2 separate regions of the Homo sapiens genome follow, and region 1 is linked to region 2. The links are contacts of gene promoters, found by promoter capture Hi-C in human tissues and cell types (Jung and others, 2019). All regions are on one chromosome and are shown on one strand. The core of a region is centred on a gene start or on the middle of the fragment in contact, and the rest is flanking DNA. Distances in the headings are between cores, read along the strand shown.

Region 1 (5,029 bases), core at 254-2,753, 370 kb after region 2:
TCTCAGCACTTTGGGAGGCTGAAGCAGGCGGATCACCTAAGGTCAGGAGTTCAAGACCAGCCTGGGCAACATGGTGAAGCTCTGTCTCTACTAAAAATACAAAAATTAGCCGGGTGTGGTGGCAGGCGCCTGTAATCCCAGCTACTCAGAAGGTTGAGGCAGGTTTGAACCCAGGAGGTGGAGGTTGCAGTGAGCTGAGATCGTGCCACTGCACTCCAGCCTGGGCGACAGAGCAAGACTCCATTGCAAAACAAAACCAAAAAGAAAGAAGCTGGTTGAAGTGCGTTCTAGGCAGAGGGAACAGCAAATGCTAAGGCCCAGAGGCTGGAGCATGATTGTTTTGTCTTGAACAGTGGGGCCAATGTGGTGGCCATGCTTGATAGGGGAGAGTGGTAGGAGATGAGGTCAGAGGTAGTGGACAGCCAGATTTAGTAGAGACCCGTAGGCCAAGATGGATATCACCTCAAAATAGCACCAGGAGAGGGTGCTGAGCAGGGGCTAGCATGGGTGGGTTTTTTTTTTCTTTTTTGAGATGGAGTCTTGTCTGTCGCCCAGGCTGGAGTGCAGTGGCCCGATCTCAGCTCACTGCAGCCTCCGCCTCCCGGGTTCAAGCGATTCTCCTGCCTCAGCCTCCTGAGTAGCTGGGACTACAGGTGCACGCCACTGTGCCCAGCTGATTTTTATGTTTTTAGTAGAAATAGGGTTTCACCATGTTGGCCAGGCTGGTCTGGAACTCCTGATCTCAGGTGATCCGCCCACTTCGGCCTCCCAAAATGCTGGGATTACAGGCATGAACCACTGCGCCTGGCCACATGGTTTTTTTTTTTGTTTTTTTTTAATGGAGTCTCACTCTGTCACCCAGGCTGGAGTGCAGTGACACAATCTCAGCTCACCGCAACCTCCCCCTCCCGAGTTCAAGCGATTCTCCTGCCTCAGTCTCCCGAGCAGCTGGGATTACAGGCATGCGCCATCACACCTGGCTAATTTTTGCACTTTTGGTGGAGACAGGGTTTCACCATGTTGGCTATGCTGGTCTTAAACTCCTGACCTCAGGTGATCCGCCAGCCTCGGCACTCCCAGAGTTCTGGGATTACAGGCGTGAGCCACTGTGCCGAGTCGGGACCCATCTTCTAAGGTTAGACTCTAAAGCAGTGTTGTCCAACAGAAGGTACAATGTGAGCCACATGGATAATTTTTTTTTTTTTTGAGACGGAGTCTCACTCTCTCCCCCCTGCTAGAGTACAATGGTGCAATCTCAGCTTACTGCAACCTCCGCCTCCCGGGTTCTAGCGATTCTCCTGCCTCAGCCTCCTGAGTAGCTGGAATTACAGGTGCCCGCCACCACGTCCGGCTAATTTTTGTATTTTTAGAAGGGACAGGGTTTCACCATATTGCTCAGGCTGGTCTGGAACTCCTGACCTCAGGTGATGCACCCACCTCGGCCTCCCAAAGACACATGGGTAATTTTATATTTTCTTTTTCTTTTCTTTCTTTCTTTCTCTCCTTCCTTCCTTCCTTCCTTCTTGCTTGCTTCTTTCCTTTTTTTTTTCTTTTCTTTCGAGGTGGGGCCCCACTCTGTCATGCACCTGGAGTGCAATGGCACAATCATAGCTCACTGCTGCCTCAAACTCTTGGACTTAAGCAATCCTCCCACTTCAGCAGCCTCCCAAGTAGCTGGGACTACAGGTGTGTGCCACCATGCCCAGCTAATTTTTTATTTTTTGTAGAGTTGAGGTCTTACTTTCTTGTCCAGGCTGGTCTTGAACTCCTGGTTTCAAGCAATTCTCCTCTTTCAGCCTCCCAAAGTGTTGGGATTACAGGCATGAGCCACTGCCTCAGCCTTAATTTTATATTTTCTAGAAGCAACATTTTAAAAGTACAAAGAAACAGATGAAATTAATTTTAATTTTTTTCTTTTTTTTTCTTTTCTTTCTTTCTTTTTTTCCTTTTTTTTTTTTTTTAGACAGAGTCTTGCTCTGTTGCCCAGGCTGGAGTGCAGTGGTGCAATCTCAGCTCACTGCAACCTCTGCCTCCTGGGTTCAAGCGATTCTCCTGCCTCAGCCTCCTGAGTAGCTGGGATTACAGGCATGCGCCACCACGCCTGGCTAATTTTTGTATTTTTAGTAGAGATAGGGTTTCACCATGTTGGCCAGGCTGGTCTGGAACTCCTGACCTCGTGATCCGCCCGCCTGGGCCTCTCAAAGTGCTGGGATTACAGGCGTGAGCCACCGCGGCTGGCCAGTTTTAATATTTTTAATTTAACTCAGTATGTCCAAAATAGTATAATTGTAACATGATTATTATTTTAAAATACGTGAATTGTTTAAAAATATGTGAAGCATCCCTGTAAAATCAAACCTGGGGTGATAGGACTTGGGGTGTGTCCCTCTCTGGGATTAGTCAGGGGAAGTAGAATAATTACAGGAGCATTGGAGGTGGCCAGTCCTAGTCATACCAGGCCAGGACACTGTCACTGCTATGCTACTGATGGAAACAAGGCAGAGACGAAACAGAATTAAATCAACATGGAGGTTGTTTGGAGAAGTCCATGGATTGTACATCTGAACTTGAAATGGCCAGTGGCCAGGCACAGTGGCTCACACATAATCCCAGTACTTTGGGAGAGTGAGGTGGGAGGATCACTTGAGCCCACAGTTCAAGAGCAGCCTGGAGAACATAGCAAGACCCCGTCTCCACCAAAAAAAAAAAAAAAAGGGAAAAAGAAATGGCTAATGATGCGGGAGACATTTTTATCTGATAGTTTTAGACCAGATTTTGCTGTTGTAGATTGCTTCTACCTGTGAATTCTTTGACTGTATTCCCAAGTGAAATTGGGAATTCTGATTCCCAAGGAATCAGAATCCCATCCATATTTGTGGTATGGGAAACAAGACCCCTTGCAGGGGAGACTGGTCCACCAGGAGACCCTGTAGCCCAGGGACCTGGGCGCCAGTGTCCCTCCCAAGGCCTGAAGACATAAGGCTAGCATGGGCCGTGGCTGGCTGTGTGGGAGTTCAGGGCCGGAACAGGTTGGAAGGTAGTCTCGCCTGCTATCCCTTATTTCTTCTCTTTGCTTTTTTCTTTGCCCTTTGCTTTTTGTGTTACTCAGGGCCTGTGGGACCCTGATTCTGGGAGAAATCTGTTGTGCTCTCCAGGTTCCTGTCTCTTCTTCAGATCTCCCCGGGTCCACTTGTAGACTTGTGCACCCTGATTCAGGATGAGACCAGAGGACCCTGTGGGGCAGCGATTCATAGGGAGCTCAAGGCCAGTTGTTATTCTTTGAATTTGAGAGAAACATTGGAAATGTCATCTTCTGAAATGAAAACTAACAGAGAAAGGCAAATCATTTGGGAAAAGTTACTTAAATGGTAACCTTGTTGCCAATAAAAGAGTATTTTCTAATTCAAAGTCCAAAGCAAGGGTCCCTCTTAGATCTCTGTTCAATATAAGATTGCTCTATTTCTTGGGAGTCGTGTTGGTGACACTGGAGACCAGAGGATTCCGGTTCTCAGAGAGAGGGATGCTGTGATGGAGTAGGACAGTACAGTCTTTTGGCTTGTATACTGAGGCACAGAGTGGGGAGGCCTGCTGTCCTTGGGGAGTGGGTAGCAGCAGATCAGGCACCAGAAAGGGTGAGACACCCCCTCTGACCCTTGTAGTGTAACAGGTGTGAGTTTGTTCACTTTGTCTCTTGTGAGCTTGGCTAGTTCGAATCAGTCCCCCAGGGCATCATCACCCCAGGCTGTTGTGTAAACATTCGTACCTGAGAAGGTACAACTGTAATGGTGCTTATACTTGCTGTGCTTTACACTAAGACCCAGAATAGCCTATTTCTTCCTCTCCTCTGCCTTTCTCACCTTTCTTTTTTCCTTGTCATCGACCTCTTAACGTTACAGGAGTAAACCTACCACTGTAATCTGCTTCACCTTACAGACACATCCCTATCTTTTGTCACCTTTGTTCCTTTTGTAGCTTGTGACAGTAACAAACTGGGTTGTTTGAGGTGACCCCTTCCCTGCTCTCCTCCTTGGGAATGATCTTATCCGCATTGTACTCCTAGGTCCCATACCCTAACTTTTCAGCCAGAGGCACATTTATAGCAAGGTTAAGGGCATCAGCAGCCAGTGAAGCTGAGCTTCCTCCTCTGGTGAGTTAAAATTGCAAATGTTGACATCTGATCCCATTCACCTTGTGGTTGTGGCTCTCCTTTACCTCCCATAAAGGACCAGCCCTGTCGAGAACCACCTTCCTCCCCACTGTGCTTCTTCATGATTTCCTGCCTCCGCTCTTTCCTTCTGGCTTTGCTTGTTCTCTGAGACCGAGAAGCTTGTGTCCCATTTCTGTAGATGTGTAGCCTCATAGGACAAGTGATGTCAAGGTTTGGCAACAGTAGATCTTTTGCTTAGGATTTGGACCCGGAACACAGAATGTCACCTTCTGTGGGCTGCTTGGTGCTACTTGGCTGAAGAGCCTTTCCAGGAGCAGGAGCCATAGGAGATCACTTTCCTGGCCACCGCCCTGTGTGGTATGCTTGTGCCCTAGCACTTGCCTTGTGCCCACTCACAGCAGTCACAGCGATGGTTTTCTTTGACTAGCGATGGAGGTCAGGCCTCTAACACAGGAGCCTAGACCTTGGGCAGGACTCTGCATCCTTGTCTAAAGAGAGGGTTCCCTTAGGTAGTACGATTCCTTATTTCAGGCCTGCATCTAGATGCTTCCCCACACAAGTTCTGAGGCCTGTTTAATTCCATTGGGCTATTGCATCTCTGGGGGAGATGCACATTTTCCTTGTAATACACCCTGTAGGAAAGTTTTGACTTGGTCCAGCTTTTCAGAGCATGAGTCTGAGAGCAGATTGATTGCAAGGCCTTGTCTGAGAAGAGAATAGACTGACTCATGATACCTGGACAGACTCCAGAGGGAGATGCGATGCCCTCTCCAGCTGCTGGCAGAGCATTCCTTCTCCTGCTTGGGCGCCTCTGAGCATGCTGGCGTCCAGCTGGCCATCTAAAGATGACCAGGATCCACT
Region 2 (4,976 bases), core at 621-3,120:
ATAGTGTCCAGGGGAGTTTGGGGCGGCTGAGTCACTGTTGGGGGTGGCAGGGCTGGCACATGCTGCCTGTGGGTTTTGGTGCCCCCAGTCCATGGCATCCCTGGCAGGGACGCCCAGAAATCCACCCTTGAATGTGGAGGGGAAGAAGCCAGTCCTTGGGGGCTTAGGAGGAGGCTTGGGTCAGGTCCTCTCCTCTCTCCTGGCAGCCGTGGCTGTCCCTGGGCAACGCCCCTGTTCAGGCCTGGCCATACCCTCTCCAGGGTGGAGGCCCCAGTGCCTCCTAGAAGTTCGGACTCAGACACGCTAGAGACCCAGTGACCCTGAGACCTGTGGGCGGGCGCTGTGTGTGGTTTGGAGTGTGTGTGACCCGAAACTGCAGGGCCCCTGCCCAGCCTCGGGCCTAATTTAGGGGTCCCAAGATGGGGGATGGGTCTCCAGCTGTGGGAGGGAAGAGGGCTTGAGGTGGGTCACATGGAGAAACCCCTCCCCCCACTGCCCAGGTGAGTTCCCCACCTACCCGCATCCGCCCCCCTATAGCTACCAGAGGAGCTGTCCTCACTCTGCCATCACCATCTCACACCTGTCATCTCCCACCCTCAAGCCCCACCCCCTCAGGCTCCCTCTGCCCACATCCCTCCATCCCTCTCCCATTCCTCGGAGGCTCCCTCAGCTGCTCAGGCCCTGGAAGAAAGGATCTGGGAACCTCGGTGCAAAGAGAGGCAGTGAGGGGGCCCCATGGCCATGGGTTGCAGGGACAAGGCCTTCAGTTAGCCCTGGGGGAGTTTGGGTGGGGAAGGGACACTGGCCAGGGTCTGGGGTCCCAGGATGGTAAGGGGGAGTAGGAGACATTGGAGGCAGGAGCAGAATTTGGGATGCGGTGAGTAGGGGGTGGGGGGCTCACCTTCTCAGCCCGCACCTCGATGTGGTTGTTGGAGGTGGTGACAATGATGTCTTCAGGTGAGAAGTCTCTCACGTCCACCGCAAACTCATAGGCGTCTCCTAGGGTCTTGATGTTGCCTGCCCCACCGGGGCGGGCTGTGGGATGGGCTGCTGTGAGCGAGGCATGGAGCAGGCCTTGCATGCAGATCCGGGGGTTCTGGCTCCTTCTCTTGGGGCAAGGGGCGGCTCCCCCAGGCCCTACCTCCCCCCTAGCTGTTTCTCCCTAAGCTCCTCCTCATTCCTACAGCCCACCTTTTCTGGGGTGGGGGTGGGGCCTCACCCAGCACAGTGTGTGTGTATATGAGGCTAGGTCTGTAACAACCCCACCCCAGGCCTGGAGCCTGGGGGCTGCCCCCCACCGCTCACCCATCCAGCCCTCCAGGGCTCCAGCTGGGATTGGCTGTGGTTACAGAGCATGGGTGGCCATGGAACCATGTCCAACCCCCAGGGCCACAACTGTTCCTTAGAGGCCCACCTGTTTTCATGGCCACATCTGTCCCTGTGGCCACATCTGTCTTGGTGGCCACACATGGCTGCAGGCTGTGCAGCACCTGTTCCAGGCCGACCGGCAGCCACAGCGCCTTCGGTGGCGCCCTGGAGCAGACGTCCCCTCCCTGTGCACCTCCCCTCCCCTCAGGGCCCGGATCACTTGCCTGGGAAGGCCAGGGGCTCCGAGTGGGGCCGCATGAAGCTGCCAAAGTCATCGGAAAACATGCTCAGGGCCTTCTCCATGGGCGGGTCCTGGGCCGGGAGAGCACGGGAGGCCGAGGAGGAGGTGGAAGAGGAGGAGGAAGAGGAAGAGGAATGGAAACTTCTCTCCGCTCGGAAGGTGGAAGAGGTTCTGTGGCTCATCCACGGACGGCGCCGGGCCCTGCCCAGGCGGGCGAGGGCTGGACAGGAGAGGGTGTGGGCGCAGGCCTCTGGGCGAGCGTGCCAGGCTCCGACTGCGGCCGCTTTATAAGGCCGACTGTCCCTGGGCTTGGGGCCAGCCCCTTGTCTACTAGCTAAATTTAGGCCTCTCCATGGCCCAGAGGGGGCTGGAAATCTTCTCCCGTGCGCCGGCCCTGCTGACAGCCCGACACGCAGGCCGAGAGGGCTGAGCTCACAGCCTGACATTCCAGGCTGATCACAGCAGCCCCAGGGGCCTCCTCACCACTGCACAGGGCTGGATCCTGTCTCCTTGCCACTCGGACCTCGGTGCCTGCCCCAGAACCTTGCAAGTTTGGGGTTTATTGTGTGTTTTGTTTCCCCCGTCAGCCTGGGGGCTCCTGAGGACTGTGCCTCCCCTCCAGACTCTGGTTCTCCTCCACGGCTGTACCTCCTCCATCAGTGTGCAGGCTCCTTGGGGACAGGGTAGGTGGAAGCACCACCGCTCTGTGACGTCAGGAGCTCCTTCCCTCAAGGCAGACAACCTTCACAGCCCATCTCTAAGGAAAGGTTGAGCCCTGCCAGGGGGTGTAAAATGTGCAGCTGTCCCCTGCCAGCCCCCATGGGGACCTGGATTCTGTGCCTGCACTCCCTCTGACTCTCAGAACATTCAGCAGCCCCAAGAGGACAAAGTTGGCAGCTTTCTCCTTAAAGGTCTAGAAGGTTGTGTTCCCGGCAACTGTCTGCTCCATCTCTGTGTCAGAGGTGATGCCTGCGAGCGCCTTAGGTGGGATTTCAGTCAGAGGTAAAAGAGAATTCCGGAAGACAATTATTCTAGCCCTGAGTTCTAGAATGCCTTCTGGGCATGGGCTCCTGGCTGCAAGCTGTCCAGCACGGCCCCGTTTGATCCCCACACAGCTGGGAGGGTGGAGGGGCTCTTCCCATGTTACGGACGGGGAAGCGAAGCCTCTTGGAAAGGGCGGGGCTCGCAGTTGCGTAAGTGGCAGAGCTGGGATTCGAACCTAGATGTGTTGGACCCAAAGCCCTTCAGAGGCCGAGGTGGTTTGAACATGTGCCTATGGAGACAGGCTGGCCCGGAAGAGCCAGAGAAGCCCCTCCCTACCCACCTGCTTGCTCAGCAAAGCTGGGACTGACCTTGCCCTGGGCCAGGGTGGAGGCCATTCTGAGAGGCGGCCAGGCCCTCTGCTCTGCCCAGGTTGCAGTTAAGGGCCTCTGCTGTCCTCTCCAAATCCGTCCCTTCCGTCCCAGATCAGCTCCAATGCCTCCTCCCCCAGGGAGGCCTCTCTGACTGCTCCTGCTCACATGGGCCCACACCCAGTCCAGATGCCCCCAGCACTGACTGTCTTTGTCCTCCCACAGCACCTGGCAGTGTGACATAGTCTTCCTGTGTGCTGTGACTCTCTGCTGTGTCCCTTCTTCCCTATCCAACTGGCAGTTCCCACGGGGGCGAGGGTTCACCTGTCTCCCCATTAGATTGAAGGTTCTTGAAGACGGGCAGTTTCTCTTTTGTCTGAGCCCCCTACAACCCAGTCTGGAGCTTCATCCTGGAGAGCTCCTTCTACAGGGGTATTAGCGGTGCTGGTGGTATGTGGAGTGGAAGCAGAGCAGGGCACAGGGCACAGCGGCGGGCCAGGCTGTTGCCTGGAGCAACAGGGCCTGTTGCCTCTGGCAGAGTTTCCTGCCCGTGTCGGGGCCTGTGACACCCAGCCTGGCTGAGGGGTTTCTAGGGCAGCTGGGAAGCCACCAGCACTGAGGTGAGATGGAGAGAGGGTGGGGCGGGGTGGGGGGCCCAGAGCCTGCCGCTCGCCAGGGAAACAGGAGCCGGTGGCTAAATGCAGACACACTGTCATGGTGCTGAGGGCCTGAGTCACTGCCCCTGGATGTCAGATCCCGTTACCCACCCCCGCCCACCATTCCTCCTCCCCTTTTTCCCCCTTCCCGAGGCATCACCCACACAAATACTGGATCCTCTGGCTTCACTGACCCAGAGGGACCTCAAAAGGTCATCAAGGACATTCCCCTGCCTCTACCTTCAGATCACAGAGACAGAAGGAGCTACAAAGATGATGCAGTCCTTTGAATCCCAGTCACCCAGGAGAGCTTTTCACAAACACAGACCCTTTCCTTGGACCCCAGGATTTTGATTTGGGATCTGGGGAAGGGACCTCACATCTCTTCCCATCAGCTCCCCACACAGCCAGCTCATAGGCCAGTGATGAAGCCCTCATCACTCAGTAGGTATTCATTGAAACCTTGCTATAAATAGGTGCTGGGCACTGTTCTAGGCTCTGAAGGACTCAGAGATGAATAAGGCAGAGACAGGCCCCTGCTTCCAGGCTCACCTCATCATACAGAAGAGGAAACTGAGGCTCTAGTTGATGAAAGAGTTAGGGTCAGCAGAGCTGTGCTGGCTTCAAACCGGTCATCCTGCTGAGCCACCCTGGCTGCCCTCTTCTCAGCCTCCTGGTGCACACAGGGCTGGGGGGTGAGGGTAGATGTGGACGTGCAGTGCTGGCTGTGGGACAGTAGCCAGCAGCTGCCCCAGACCAGACACTGGAAATCGGGATGTTGACAGGGCAGCCAGTTCTGGTGCTGTGCAGAGTCAACAGGTCGGGGTGGCCAAGGTGAAGGTGGGCTCGAGTCCATACAGAGCGGCAACTCCCATCCCACCTCCCACAACACACATCTTTGATTTTGATTTGACTTGCCTGGCATCTAGGGGCAAAGGGTGGCCCAGGGTCCCAGATTTTAACAATCATCCAAGGGCTATCATAAGCTTCAGAGGGTGGCTTTGTCTGGGTGGGAGTGGAGGCAATTGTCCCCAACCTCTTGCCCAAAAGTGGCATCAGACACAACTCTTCTGTTCTGTGCCCAAACCATTGCCCTGGTTCAGCCTCAGGAGCTGGAGGAGCTTTGGGCAGGGGAAGAGCTGCACAGTGTGGGGCTGGGTTCAGCCTCTGCTGTGTGACCTTGGATGAGTGACTCACCTCTCTGACCATCTACAAAATGGCGAGGCTCTCCCCATTCACAGGGTGTGGGAAGGAGGACTTGAGCTGCAGATGTGACGCTCCTGACACGTCGCAGGCACACGGCAGGTGCTTGTTCCTCGCCATGTCCCCTCACACCTGTGCTGCCATCCTCTGTTGGGG

Evidence for each region. The method cuts DNA at HindIII sites, captures the fragments that hold promoters and counts their contacts. A contact is called where the count stands out against the background at its distance.
Region 1: a contact is called between a fragment that was not itself captured here and the fragment with the promoter of HSPB7 in region 2, in 1 of the 25 tissues and cell types used here (IMR-90 fibroblasts).

Annotation. Positions count from the first base shown.
Region 1 is chr1:16,381,678-16,386,706 of GRCh38, forward strand. The region is part of intron 1 of SZRD1 (SUZ RNA binding domain containing 1); the gene reads left to right. Among named protein-coding and RNA genes, the nearest start is that of SZRD1, 17 kb to the left of the region's middle. RefSeq lists enhancers at 3,904-4,404, 4,405-4,905. The HindIII fragment of the contact is 7,164 bases long and covers 1-5,029 here.
Region 2 is chr1:16,016,173-16,021,148 of GRCh38, forward strand. HSPB7 (heat shock protein family B (small) member 7) reads right to left here and starts at 1,871. Exons shown (of 3, transcript NM_014424.5): 1 at 1,593-1,871; 2 at 902-1,035. The coding sequence starts at 1,791. RefSeq lists enhancers at 673-1,419, 1,420-2,164. The HindIII fragment of the contact is 13,638 bases long and covers 1-4,976 here.